Regions from separate parts of the Homo sapiens genome. Here region 2 is linked to region 1. Evidence: promoter capture Hi-C in human tissues and cell types (Jung and others, 2019). All regions are on one chromosome and are shown on one strand. Each heading gives the region's core, a stretch centred on a gene start or on the middle of the fragment in contact. The rest is flanking DNA. Distances are from core to core; before and after follow the strand shown. Region 1 holds the start of FBLL1 (fibrillarin like 1). Region 2 overlaps SLIT3 (slit guidance ligand 3).

What was found. The method cuts DNA at HindIII sites, captures the fragments that hold promoters and counts their contacts. A contact is called where the count stands out against the background at its distance.
Region 2: a contact is called between a fragment that was not itself captured here and the fragment with the promoter of FBLL1 in region 1, in 2 of the 25 tissues and cell types used here (H1 embryonic stem cells and spleen).

The regions. Positions count from the first base shown.
Region 1 is chr5:168,524,533-168,531,749 of GRCh38, reverse strand. It overlaps FBLL1 (fibrillarin like 1), which reads right to left and starts at 2,445. Exons shown (of 1, transcript NM_001355274.2): 1 at 1,116-2,445. The coding sequence starts at 2,245. The coding sequence ends at 1,241. RefSeq lists enhancers at 572-741, 1,597-2,138 and a silencer at 2,992-3,286. The HindIII fragment of the contact is 8,115 bases long and covers 1-7,217 here.
Region 2 is chr5:168,665,315-168,672,531 of GRCh38, reverse strand. SLIT3 (slit guidance ligand 3) reads left to right here. Exons shown (of 36, transcript NM_003062.4): 34 at 1,049-1,334; 35 at 2,541-2,749; 36 at 5,843-7,217. The coding sequence ends at 6,078. Among named protein-coding and RNA genes, the nearest start is that of SLIT3-AS2, 38 kb to the left of the region's middle. RefSeq lists an enhancer at 623-1,198. The HindIII fragment of the contact is 8,529 bases long and covers 490-7,217 here.

The sequences.
Region 1 (7,217 bases), core at 1,196-3,695:
GACTAAATGTTGATGTGGGTCTTTTTGGCAGTTGGGAGTGTGTATGCATGCATGCATGAATGAATGAAAAGTCTGGCTTGGAGGGATTTACTGGGCCTTTGGGGCATTCTCAGCTTTCCTCGGATTACCCACTCTCCCTTCCCTTTGGGCTGCTTTGGAGAGAGACTGCGAGGTACTGAGACCAGCAACTTGGGAAGTGCAGGACATGCCTTGCAAAGACAGATACTTTCTGGGAGTAATTTGTCTGCCTGTTCTGCAGACACTTGGTGATACCACTTTGGGTATGTTATGCCCTGTAGTAGAGACAGTCTGCTAGCTAGACCCACATCTGCCCCGCATCTTGTTTTGCTATTGTGAAACCAAACAAAGGGGTAGCCCGGGGGGGACAGGGGAGGGCGAAAGAACACAATAAGGTCACAGGGCCCTGCTCTAAGTGTGTCCCTGTGCACATGCCATAGGGGTTGGGGACCAGAGACAAGATCCCCCTGGTGCTGAGGAAACAGCAATGGATTTAGAGCCCCGAAGACTGGCATTTAAGTTCTACCTCCTTACTGGCTATGTACGTTTGGGCAAAATAGTTTACCTTCAGAAGCCCTGTTGCTTCACATGTAATATGCAAGTGCTAACAAAGCCATCTCAGGGCTGGTGTGAGGAATAAATTTAACATTTATTTATTATTCACTTTAACAGTGAATGCAAAAGGGCTTAGTTGAAGAGTAAAATACTAAAAACCTATTGTGGTTAAGACTTTGGCTGTGAGTCAGATGATTGGTGTGTTTGACTATATTATTGTCCACCAACATTCAGTGTTTTTCCCGAGTCAGGCTGGGTCATGTGACTTGGCCAAATGTGAGCAGAAGTGCCCCATCAGTTCCAAGGGGACATTTAAAAGCTTTTATTAGCAATTCCGCAGCTCTCTTTCCTCTGCCCTAGGGATGGGGGGAGCATGTGTGAAAATGGGGCCCTGGGGAGTTGGAGACCTGAGTGATTAGAATGAGCACAGCTCCCAGGCTACTGCTGGATGGGCCCCTTATACCAGCCGGTTTAGGCCACTGGGATTTGGGGGTTGATTGTTACTGCAGCAAAACCTAGCCTGGCATCACCATACAGATAGGTGCCGTTTCTTTATGCAGTTTAATAGAAAAACAACAAAACAAAACACTCACAAAGAAAACACACAGAAAATAATAGCAAACACAACGCAGCCTTGGGGAGATGGCAGGCGAGCCTGAGCTGGGTGCTATTTGCTGCTGCTCTTGGGAAGAGGTCGGTAGACCCCGACCACCACAGCGTGGTCCCGCTCATAGGGCTCCAGGGTCAGCTGCTCTTGAGGCTTCAAGTTCTCCTGCTGCAACTTCCTCACCTCAGAAGCAAACACAGCCTCGGCGGATGCGGTGGAGTCGATGCAGTTGGCCTTGATGGAGATGAGAAAGTGGCCCCCATTGCGCAGGAAGGTGTGGGCGTTCAGGGCCACGATGCGGGACTGGTCCGGCTGGGCCACGTCGGCGAAGATCACGTCCACCATCCCGATGAGCATGCGGTACTTGAGCGGGTGCCGCGCGTCCTCCAGGACCGGAATGATGTTGGTGCGCTTCTTGGCCACGTTGACCAGATCGCGGCCGGCGCGGTGGGAGAACTCGACGGCGTAGACCAGGCCGTCTGGGCCAATGATGTCGGAGACATGGGAGACGGTGGTGCCCGACGCGGCGCCCAGGTACAGCACCTTGGACTTGGGCTTGATGTGGATCTGGTCCACCCCGCCCAGGATGGCCGCGGCCAGCTTAGAGCGGAACGGGTTCCACGTGCGGTACTCCTGCTTCACGCCGCCCTCGGTCACCGTGACGCGCCTCTCGCCGTACACAGACTGGCCCGGCACCATGTTCAGCGTGACCAGCGCGTCCTCCGCCCCGCGGTAGATGAAGACGCCCTCGTGCCGGTGCGGCTCCACCGACACCACCATGGCGCCCTTCCTGCGGCGGCTCTTGCTCTTGGCCACGCCGCCCCGCCGCTGTCCACCGCCGCCGCGATCCTTGCCGTCGCCGCCGCCGCGCCCCCGGCCCCGGCCGCCCCCGCCGAAGCCGCGCGCCCGCGCCCCGAAGCCGCCCTTGCCCCCCTGGCCGCCGCCGTCGCCCCCGCCGCCCTTGCCCGCGCCGCCGCCGCCGCCTCGGCCCCCGCCCCAGCTGCCCCAGCCGCCGCCCCCGCGGCCGCCCCCACCGCCCCCGCGCGAGCTCGCGGCCGACTTCATGGCACGCACCGGGGCGGGTGCCGTGGGTTACCGGTGCCTCGGGGCGGGTGTCAGGGGGCTCTGGTGGCTCTGGGTGGTCGTCCCGGCGGTTGTCCGCGGGTTTAGCAGCGGAGGCGGGCGGCGGGCGGCGGGCGGCGGGGGCAGGACGGGCTCTACCGCAGTGCCCGCATCCCGGAGCCGCCCCTTGACGCAGCGGCTGTGGCGCGATTGCATCACACCCGTCCCCGCGACCCTGCGGCCCGGAAGCCCCGCTTCCCAGCCCGCGTGCAGACGCAGCCTGCTCCTCTTCGCTCACCCTGCCCCTTCCCCATCTCCCGCCTTCCCAGGGATCCCTGGCACTTCCCTGGGCCACAGGGACGGGGGCGTCTCTGCTGCAGGAGAGGGGGAGGTAAGCATCAGCGTCGGTCCTGGCTGTGCCACCAGTTCTGGGACTATTGATCAGCAAGGAAGTGTTGTTGATTCTTCAGTGTGAATGGGGATACACAGAGAGCCAAAATGTCATGTTCATCCTCGAAGTCTAGTCTATGCTTCAAAGTCACTCTCTAAATCTGCAGCATTTTCTTGAGGAAAGAAAGAAAAAGAGAAAAAGAAAGAAAGAGAGAGAAAGAAAAGAGAGAGAGGGAGAGGAGAAGAAAAGAAAAGAATAATTGGGCAGCACCAAGGGCAGCAACGAGAAGAAAAGAAAAAAAGAAAAGAACAGAAAGAAAATAAAAGAATAACTCGGCACCACCAATGGCCCCAAGGCCGCAACGCAGAGGCTTTAGGGTTTAGTCAGCACCAGGGACAGCGACAGCAGTTGGGGCCCCCGTTTTGGCTACTGCTAGGGGCTTTGGGAACCACACAAGAGCTGGGGAAAGTAGGATAGGTGGTGAAACAACTGGCCAGCCTCCCGTTAGTTGAATTAAGTGTCTACTCGAGAGAGAGAGAGAGAGAGACAACGCGCACCTGAAGATCGGAGCATTTACTGAACACCTGGTATGTGCAGTATGACTTCCGTTCCATCCTGGACCACAGCTCTTCCCGTCTCATACTCATGGACGACAGTGCCAGGTCTGATTTTCCCTGAGGACTGGAGTGTCTCCTTAATGGGGACCAGAGTTTTATACACTGGAATGTGAACAAGGGATCAGTGAGTGAAATGTATGATTCCTGAGGTTGAATGGTTCACATAAAATACTCTACTTAGAGGTTTCCATTCTTGCTATAAGGTGAATATTTTCCAAAATGATGAACTACACTTGGTGTCTGTGAGGGTTAATTTTATGTGTCAACTTTACTGGGCCATGGGATGCCCAGATATTTGGTCAAATAGTATTCTGAGTGTTTCTGTGAGGGTGTTTTTTGATGAGATTAACATTTAAATTGGTATATTGAGTAAAGCTGATTGCCGTCTACGATGTGGCTGGGCCTCATCTAATCAGTTGAAGGCAGAAATAAAGCAAAATGCTGACCTTCCCCACGGAAGAGAGAATTCTCCTGCCCAAGGGCCTTTCAACTGGCACATCAGCTCTTTCTGCCTGACAACCTTTGGACTGGGACATTGGCCCTGCGGATTTTGGACCTGCTGGTCTCCACAATCACATGAGCCAATATATATCCTATATATACACACATATATATATCCTACAGGCCTGTGTCTTTGGAGAACCTTGAATAATAGAGATCCTGAGACAAAGCCTTGAGTCCAATTGGTTTGTGAGGTGATCCCAGGAAGCACATGTTGGGGAGGCAAAAATGAGATAGAGAAGATAGAAAGGTTAAGAAAGAACTGGGCACAGTGCCTCACACCTGTAATCCCAGCACTTTGGGAGGCCAAGGTGGGAGGATTGATTGAGCCCACGAGTTCAAGACCAGTCCTAGCATGATAGCAAGACCCTGTCTCTACAAAAATAAACAAGACTTAGCCAGGTGTCATGGTGTGTACCTGTAGTCACTGTAGTACCTGTAGTCACTGTAGTACCTGTAGTACCTCAGCTACTGAGGAGGCTGAGCTGGAGGGGTCGCTTGAGCCTGGGAGATCAAGGCTGCAGTGAGCTGAACTCACACCACTACACTCCAGCTTAGGTGACAGAGGGAGACCCTGTCTCAAAAAAAAAAAAAAAAAAAAAAAGAGGGTAGATTAATGAGTAGATGACCACAGTGGACAATGGGAGCTCAATTGCTGTGAGTATTCTGAGAAACTGTGTGGAAGGCATCTCAGAATTGTTCTACTGCAGGTTGGAGGCTGGGGCATTAATCCACTGTCTTAATTTGTTTCTATACCTGAGACTGGGTAATTTATAAAGAAAAGGGCTTTATTTTTTCTTTTTTTATTCTAAGATAGGGTATCACTCTGTCACCCAAGCTGAGTGCAGTGGCACAATCATGGCTATTGCAGCCTTGATCTCCCAGGCTCAAGCAATCCTCCCACCTCAGCCTCCTGAGTAGTTGGGACTACAGGTGTGTGCCACCACACCAGGCTAAAATTTTATTCTTTATAGAGATGGAGCCTCACTATGTTGCCCAGGCTTGTCTCAAACTCCTGGACTCAAGCAGTTCTCCTGTTTCAGTCTCCTAAAGTGCTGGGATTACAGGTGTGAGCCACAGTGGCCAGCCAGGTTTCTTTCTATATAGGTATAAACCATCATGCCTGGCAATTTTTTTTTTTTTTTTTTTTACTTTTTGTAGAGATGAGACCTCATTATGTTGCCCAAGCTGGTCTCCAACTCCTGGCCTCAAGCCATCCTCCTGCCTCAGCCTCCTGAGTTGCTGGAATTCTAGGCACAAGCCTCCACACTTGGCACCATGTATACTTTTGTTTACAATTGACTTGTTATTCCAGAAGATGTGCCCTAAAGTAATGATCATAATTACATCTGTGACTAGGCCTCAGTAGTAGACATAGTGCACATCAATCATTCCCATAGACTTAAAAAATGCATGAGGAATTTTGCTTATTTTCTCACAGAACCATTCCAACAAATTGCCCAAGGAGTAACTAGCCATGATTGACATGAAACCAGAGGTAATACTCTATAACCCCATCTCCATTCTCATTATACTTTAAGCATCCATGCATGAAGAAACTTGTTTTCTCTAAGCCATGGTCCACCTCCAAAGGTGACTGACTGTAGGGATCTGATCTCCACCCCAGTGACAGGTGCAGCTATATTTGCTCAAGAGGAGTTGGGCTATGATGCAGTAACATAGAACTCCAAAATCTCAATGTATTAATACAGCTATGTTTAGATTTCTTATGTTTTATGTCCACTGAGAGTCAGCGGGAGGTTTGCACCACACAGCCACTGAAGAACTCAGGCCCCAACATCTTGTGGCTGCAACATGAGAAAAAAGAGGGCCTCCACTGTACTGCTGAAGAATAGAGTGCAGAGAACTCACAACCTTTTTGTATGTTTAGTCTGGACTTTGACACAATCATTTCTACTCACCACGGATTGCAGCCTTGATCTCCCAGGCTCAAGCAATTCTCCCACTTCAGCCTCCTGGCTGATGACTGGCCAAAGCCAGTCACATGCCCTGCCTAGCTGAAAGGCAGCTGAGATATGTGGGTGCCATAACTGGGGAACAGTAAATGTTTTTACCTAGGTGTCTACTGCATAATGCCAGCTGGCACACCTGGATCAGTGCACCAAACACAAACACCTCAGGTGAAATTTACTGTTTGGCGTGCATATATTTAAATTTACTCGTCAAGACAAAATATAATACCTCCTTCCTAACACGACTAAAACTCACAATCTTAGTCAACTCCCAATAATATATCTAATATAGCTGGTTAATTAATTAGAAAAAGAGAATCTTCTCCCTTTTTGTAGCCTCTGGGACTTGGAAAGTAGCTAAAATCCCTTATTTGGGATGTCATTATTGTTTGGCCATTACTTCTGCTGGGGGACACTTCGTCTCTTGGTGGCTCAGACTCTTACTCCATTCCCCACTGTAGAATTAGTGGCTGCCATTCAGGAAATGCTCAAAAAGCTTAGCTGGCCTACTTTTGCAAAGGTCTTCTTTCCACAAGACACCTTAGAAATTCTCTGTAATTCTTCATTTTATAGAATAAGAATCTGAAATTTGGGCTGGGCGTAGTGGCTCATGCCTGTAATCCTAGCACTTTGGGAGGCTGAGGTGGGTGGATCACTTGAGCTCAGGAGTTCGAGACCAACCTGGAAAACATAGTGAGACCCCATCTCAATACATAAAAAAAAAATTCTGGCCGGGCGTGGTGGCTCACACCTGTAATCCCAGCACTTTGGGAAGCCGAGGCGGGCGGATCACAAGGTCAGGAGATCGAGACCATCCTGGCTAACACGGTGAAACCCCGTCTCTACTAAAAATACCAAAAAATTAGCTGGGCGTGGCGGCGTGCAGCTGTAGTCCCAGCTGCTGGGGAGGGTGAGGCAGGAGAATGGTGTGAACCTGGGAGGTGGAGCTTGCAGTGAGCCAAGATCGTGCCACTGCACTCCAGCCTGGGTGACAGAGTGAGACTCCATCTCAAAAAAAAAAAAAAAAAAAAAAAAAAAAAAAAAAAAAATATATATATATATATATATATATATATATATATACAAGCTATCAAACTCCTACAATCTAAAATCCCCACAAAAATTACAGTGAGTTTAACTGTGCTCCCCTTCAATCCATTACATTTTATAAGCACCATGTATATTTATGTAATTAAACTGGTATGAAAATGCAAAGCAAACCAAGCAACAAAACAAAGCAAAAAATTGTTTTACTTTAGATGACCCCATGTACTCTCATTAACCAGTGAAATTTCTATAATGCGACCAAGTATTTTTTTGATTTGTACAAATGTATGGGGTACATGAGAAGTTTTGTGACATGTATAAGGCACAGTGATCAAGTCGGTATTTAAAGTATCCATCATGGGAGTACAGTACATTTTTATTAAGTATCATCACCCTGCTCAGCTATCAAGCATTGAATTTGTTCCTCCTATCTTACTGTATGTTTG
Region 2 (7,217 bases), core at 3,505-6,004, 140 kb before region 1:
TGCCCTGCAACCTGGGTGACAGAGTGAGACCTTGTCTTTAAAACAACAACAAAACACAAAAAAGTAGCCATCAGTTAGGCAGACTCTGGGCCTGAAATGCAGCCCCTGCACTGATAGTTCTCAAGGGGTTAAGTGTAAAAAAAGCTACCAAAACTGCTCGTTCAATCCTAAGATTCCCAAGACTTTACCCAGAGTCCACCTGCAGAGACTAGCACGGGCCCAGAAGAGGGTGTTGTTAATGGGTGGTTCAGATGTAGGGAGGCCAGGGAAAGCTCTGTGCCGAGGGCAGCCCCAGAAGGGACACCACTTATCCCTGGAGGAGGACCGTGCCCTGTGCCCCACCTGCTCCAGGTGCACCCAGAACGGAACTGGGTGCCCTGCTTCCAGGCCAGTCCCAGGCTCTCAACTATAGAAGGTGGGCAGGGAATGGTGTAGAAGGGGAGCGAAAATACAAATTATTGAAAAGCAAATTAGGTCTTTACTAACAGTCTCTTGAAGATCCTGAGAAGAGGGGTACACCGCACATAAGGCAGCAAACTGGTCTAAAAACCCTGAACCCCAAAGTTTCGTTGATCAAGCAGCTCCCCAAAACCTTATCTTATCTCCTCAGCTGTAGCTCACCTGCCCTGGATTCTCTTGTGAGGCCTGGATCAAAGGGCTGAGGAGCCTGGTGGGGACAGCAGGTTATTTGGTGCACTTGCCTATTGGGGGGAACGGTCTCCTCAGTTCAGCCAGTGGGATCATAGGGCAATGGGTGACCAGATCATCTCATTTTTTCTAGGGAAGTCCAAGATACAAATTTTTATGGGAAATTTTCTAATATTACATATTGGCAACAAATTCACGTTTTTTTAAGGAGTCCCAGTGCAGGACCAAGGATGCACGTCCCTGTATGGAGGAGGTCCGAGGTTTTGGCCCGTTAACCTCGTTTGAACAGCAGAGGCCCAGAGTTCTGGCCATGAATGTGTGAAAAGTGCTTTTTCGCTCTGAGGACAGCAGGGTGGCAGGGGAGGGTCTTCAGGCCACTGTCCTGGCTCCCCTCCCACAGGCATCCCCACCTCCACCGGCCTCTCTGCCTTGCGCCAGGGCACGGACCGGCCTCTAGGCGGCTTCCACGGATGCATCCATGAGGTGCGCATCAACAACGAGCTGCAGGACTTCAAGGCCCTCCCACCACAGTCCCTGGGGGTGTCACCAGGCTGCAAGTCCTGCACCGTGTGCAAGCACGGCCTGTGCCGCTCCGTGGAGAAGGACAGCGTGGTGTGCGAGTGCCGCCCAGGCTGGACCGGCCCACTCTGCGATCAGGAGGCCCGGGACCCCTGCCTCGGCCACAGGTCAGTGTCCCAGGAGCCCTGGCTGTGTGCTCGAGCTCCCAGAATGGCCTCAGTCCCTACCCCACCTGAGAAATAGGCACTACTGGAGGCTGGAGGAGTTGCAGTCAGACCGCAGATAGGATCTGTGTAAGTGTAACTGCTTAAGAGGTCAAGAGGCTGAGCTTACACATCTGAGCAGCCAGACCTGCTTGGAGGGATCAGCATAAGAGGGCCCTGCTCAAAACACTAGTCTCTGCCAGGTGGCCTTTAGAACCTGTCCAGAGCCACAGTGAGCCCCCACTGTCTCTGTGGGAATTAAAAAAGGCACCCACATGGGCAGACTCAGCCTGTGCAAGGCACCAGGTGTATATAACCACACATCAAACCACATTTAATAGTTTAAGCAACTACTCATTCAACAAAGATTTACTGAGGTCCTACTACGTGCCAGGCCTCATGCTAAATATAGGAGATCCAGTACTGTCAGTGTTAAGAAACCTGAATCAGCCAAAACTAACACCAGAGCCAACACTGGAAATGTGGTTGGCTAAACCAGTCAGGAAATGATTTTTTGGATCAGGAATAAGGGACAGCTATACAGGGTTTGAGCTTCTTGTGTTGCTCTTGAGCATATGTGTGTGTGTGTTTGACTCTATAATACGGATCCTGGCTCTGCATGTCATCTCAATAGGGGCAGTGGTGCATCATGATTCAGAATATAGGCTTTACCTTCATTTTTTTCCATGGGTGAAATGTACTGCATAGGAGCAGCAGACAAGAGGTTATGATGGAAATTCAGAGCAATACTGGGTGTAAAGCACTTAACACAATTCCTGGTACATAGCCAGTGGTACCTGCTGGTAGTAGTGGGGTGGTAGTAATTCTTATTTAAGATGGTAAAGCAATTAAAATGTTTAGAGAATGGCTAGATTCTTTCAAGCAGTTGTTTGCTACTTGGCTGCATGAGGTGTGTGTGTAAATCAGCAAGCCAGCCTCTGCTGTGGTCACAGCTCACAGTGGACACTGGGTGACACTCGCAGGCTTCTGGCTGGTTGGCCAGGGGAACCAAGGTGGTTAAGAAAAGAGATGCTCAGCCTAGGAAACAGAGAAAGCTATTGGACTGTACTCAGCTCCGGGTCCCCTGGTCCCTGGCTGGGTGGACAGAGGGAGTCCCCAGCAGCACCAACTCTGATCCAGTTCCCTTCTCATCCTCCTCTCTGCCCCTAGATGCCACCATGGAAAATGTGTGGCAACTGGGACCTCATACATGTGCAAGTGTGCCGAGGGCTATGGAGGGGACTTGTGTGACAACAAGAATGACTCTGCCAATGCCTGCTCAGCCTTCAAGTGTCACCATGGGCAGTGCCACATCTCAGACCAAGGGGAGCCCTACTGCCTGTGCCAGCCCGGCTTTAGCGGCGAGCACTGCCAACAAGGTGGGTCTACTGTGCCTGTGGGAGGGAGGAAGTGGGGGTCAGAGTTGGACTTCACATCCAGATCACCTCAGTTCCAGTTCTGGCTGTGCCACTTAAAGGCTGCATGACCTTGGTTCAGTCACTTTCTGAGCCTCAATTCCCTCAACTTGAAAACGGAGGCAATACTATACCTTCCTGTATCAGTTATCTAGTGCTGCATAACAACTTAGCCCCAAACCATAGCAGTTCAAAACCACAAAAAACATTTTTTTTAGCCTACATTGTTCCTGTGGGTTGGGAATTCAGAAAGAGCGTAGCTGGGATCTCTCAGGGTTGCATTCTACACAGCCATGGCTGCAGTTCTCTGTAGGCTAACCCAAGGCAGCAGGATATGCTTCCAATGTGCTGCACTCCCATGGCGCTGGGTGTTGGCGGGAGGTCCCAGTTCTGCCCTGCATGAGTCACTACACAGGCTCTTTGAGGGTCCTTGCGCCAGGGCAGCTGGCATGTCCCAGAGTGAATGGTCCAGAAGAGAGTAAGCCACTTGTCTTGTATGACCTACAATTGGAAGTCACTCACACCATCATTTCCACCACATTGCATTGGTTACATCAGTCAGGTACATTCAGTGAGGGAGGGGACCACATAAAGGGCATCAATACCAGAAGGTGGTAGTCACTGGGGGCAATCTTGGAGGCTAGCTACTGTGCTTCTTTATAGGGTTGTTGGGAGGAGTACGTGAGATGTTGAGATGTAAAGTCAGAAGCAACATTGTCACGATGAAGGCCAAACTGTCATTTAGAATCTGCATGACCTTGACTATCCTGGCCAACATGGTGAAACCCTGTCTCTACTAAAAATACAAAAATTAGCTGGGCATCATGGCGGTCGCCTGTAATCCCAGCTATGCTGGAGGCGAGGCAAGAGAATCATTTGAACCCAGGAGGCGGAGGTTACAGTCAGCCAAGATCAACCTGGGTGACAGAGTGAGAGCCTGTCTCAACTCTGCATGACATTGAGCAGCATACTTGTGGTTCACTTCCTCATCTAGATAGGGCCAGGAGTGGTGGCTCACACCTGGAATCCTAGCATTTTGGGAGGCCGAGGTGCAAGGATTGCATGAGCTCAGGAGCTTGAAGCTGCAATGAATGCACCACTGCACTCCAGCCCAGGTGACAGAGACAGACCCTGTCTCCAAGAAAAGACAAAAGTGCAGATAACTCATACTGCCAAAGTTAAGATTCTAAAGCATGGACTTTTTAAAGATGAAACAAGTGTAGAAAATGGTCCTCAGTGGACCTCTGCAGGGAGAACACATGAGCAGTCTGGATGGTTCTTTTCTCCTCTTTTCCAGCTGTTGGCCCTTGAGATGCCATGCCTTCAAAACTAATGAAACCCTAGCCACTCAGAGTGGCCCCCTGACATTGACCAGCACCACTGACATCACCTGGGAGTCACCTGGGGCTCCCAGGCCCCACCCCAGCCCTTTTGAGTCAGAACCTGCATTTTGCAATGATTCGCATATGTATCCAAGCTGATGGCATTGCTCCACAGCCTCCATCCAACCCTCTTGCCCTTACTGGGTCAGCAGAAGCCAGTTCTTTGGTCTGACCTAAACAAAGGAAATTATATTAATATTAAAATGGTTGTCTTACCTTGGGGGATCTTTCTCCTGCATGGACACTGAGAAGTCTTGCTCCCTGCCACCAGGATCCCAGGCAGTCCACCCCGTGCCTTGAGGACTTTTCCACATTTTATACCTACACGAAATACTATTCTTAACCAAAACTCATTTTTAAAATGTTATTAAATAGCTTATTCTGAAATAATTTCAGACTTACAGAAAAACTGTCAGGACAGTATAAACAGCTTAATCCCTTCACCCCAGTCATTAGCATGTTGCCCCATCTGCACTCCCTGTCTCTCCCCATGTTATACACATGCACATGCACACATTGTCATTAACCTCTTTCTAATCCTTTTAACAATCTCATAATTTTAAAGACTTTTAACAACACCTGAAGCTTTAAAATGCATAAAGCCCTTTCTCCTTCACAATCGCCTCTGGTGCCCGTAACAGCCTGGGAGTTGCTGGAAGGACAGGTAAATGTGTTACCACTTTGCAGACACGGAAACTGTGACTTGCTTGTCAAGGGTCAAGGGTCATGGCTCCCTTCCTCAAGTGCCTTGCTGCAGACATTCTCCCACTGTAGTGAGGACAGTAGAGGGGTGGAAATGAAAAGCTGGGTCAGGGTCCAGAGTGTTTAAGCAGATACAGGGGTGCCCTTTCCCAGCCTGCAGTTATTTCTAGGCCTTCTGGAAAAGCTCATCGCAACACCTGCTTCTTATTCAGATATCAACTCCAGCTCATTTCCCAGAGAAGCCTCCCTGGCCCCTGGGCCAGGTCAAATGCCTTTTGAATACAAATGTCTTATAGCATACAAAAACATATACTGTATGTTCTTGTATGAACATCTTCCCTTTCTTTATAGCATCTACCTCAGTTTCTTTATTAAATATATTCACTTAAATAGTATCTAGACTCTAGGCCAAGAGAGACAGACTATTGGGAGTGGTAGTGACTGGGGCAAACTGGAGATTGCCTGCCCCATCTAAAGCACTCAGCTTCAGCCATCACTGCAGTGCAGGGTTGCAGGCTCAGCTCTGCCAGACCTCCTTGTTTTCAAGGAAGGCAGAAATCCAGATTTTCAGGTGAAATCTCCTGCTTTTTGAATGTTGACATTTAATTAATTTTTAGGCACATGTAGGGTGATCCAAATTGGTCTGGGGTCAGGATTTGGCCCACAGTCTATCAGTTTGCGTCATCTAGTTTTAGTTTTGACTTTAGGTTTCTTGAAGGAAGGGACCAAGCCTGCTTTTGTCATCATTATATCCTCACGGCTTAGGTGTAAGCCTGTCAGAGAGCCTGGTACAGGAAAGGCACCTGTTTGTAAAATAGATGGGTGGATGGAGGGGAGGGTAGGCAGATGGATGAGTGAATAAATTCTTACAGTCTTCAGAGCACAAGTATTTCAAAGCAGCCTACCTGGGAACTGCTCATGGTCCTGCTGGCCACCTAGACCACCAATGCCCTGACTTCTATGCCCTCTGCAGAGAATCCGTGCCTGGGACAAGTAGTCCGAGAGGTGATCCGCCGCCAGAAAGGTTATGCATCATGTGCCACAGCCTCCAAGGTGCCCATCATGGAATGTCGTGGGGGCTGTGGGCCCCAGTGCTGCCAGCCCACCCGCAGCAAGCGGCGGAAATACGTCTTCCAGTGCACGGACGGCTCCTCGTTTGTAGAAGAGGTGGAGAGACACTTAGAGTGCGGCTGCCTCGCGTGTTCCTAAGCCCCTGCCCGCCTGCCTGCCACCTCTCGGACTCCAGCTTGATGGAGTTGGGACAGCCATGTGGGACCCCCTGGTGATTCAGCATGAAGGAAATGAAGCTGGAGAGGAAGGTAAAGAAGAAGAGAATATTAAGTATATTGTAAAATAAACAAAAAATAGAACTTATTTTTATTATGGAAAGTGACTATTTTCATCTTTTATTATATAAATATATTACACCATCTGCGTATATGTACCATATAGTGAGTTATTTTTACCAAGTTTTGTGTTGTGTATTTGTTGTGTTTTTAAAAATAGCTGTTTAAAAATTTAAGAAAAAAATAGACTAATAAAAATGCTTTAAAACAAAAGGATAAGAATAAAGAATGATAGCCTGTCTGAGGAAGGAGGAAGATGTTTTCATGTTTATGAAACGGTATTATGTCGGCAGTAGACCAAGAGCTGCTCATTGAGATCAGAAAAAGGAATAAGAGGAAGAGAGAGAAGGAAAAGACCTTTGTTTCTTGTTTTTTAACTCCCTTTTATTTTTCCTCCCCTAAAATTACCCAGCTTTTCGGAGTCCTGGATGTCAGTGCCCAAAATGCCCAGTTCTTCCAGGAAAAGCTGCTGAGCCCTGGCCTTCTCAGTCTCACTGCCACTCAAAAATATTGCTGTCCCTGTCTGTCCCAGACCCCCCTTCAGGGTATCTGAACCCACTGGGGGACCCCTCTTCTCCTTCCTGGGTGGCCCTGGCTTCCGTATCTGAACCCACTGGGGGACCCCTCTTCTCCTTCCTGGCTGGCCCTGGCTTCCAATCGAGGACTGACTATTGAAGTCTGCTACAGGTGTCATTTGGAACTGTCTTACCAAATTTTAAAACAGCTGCTATTTTTCCTGCTCCTCCCCAGGAGAGGGGTCTTCCTAGAGGAGGCGAGGGAAGAGAATATCATGGTGTCTCCTCAGGACCCATGCACTGGCCCTCTCTCCTCCTTCCAGGTAATTTTTCATTGGAATGTATCCCAGTAGAGAAGGTAGTCAGCCCTTCTTGGAAGCGGAAGGCTGGGAGCCAAGTCAAGTCTGCCCACAGCGCTAGATGTCCAACTCTGGAAGGTTCTTGGAGGCTCTTGTTGTAAGACAGGCCTCTGCCACCTGATCCTCCA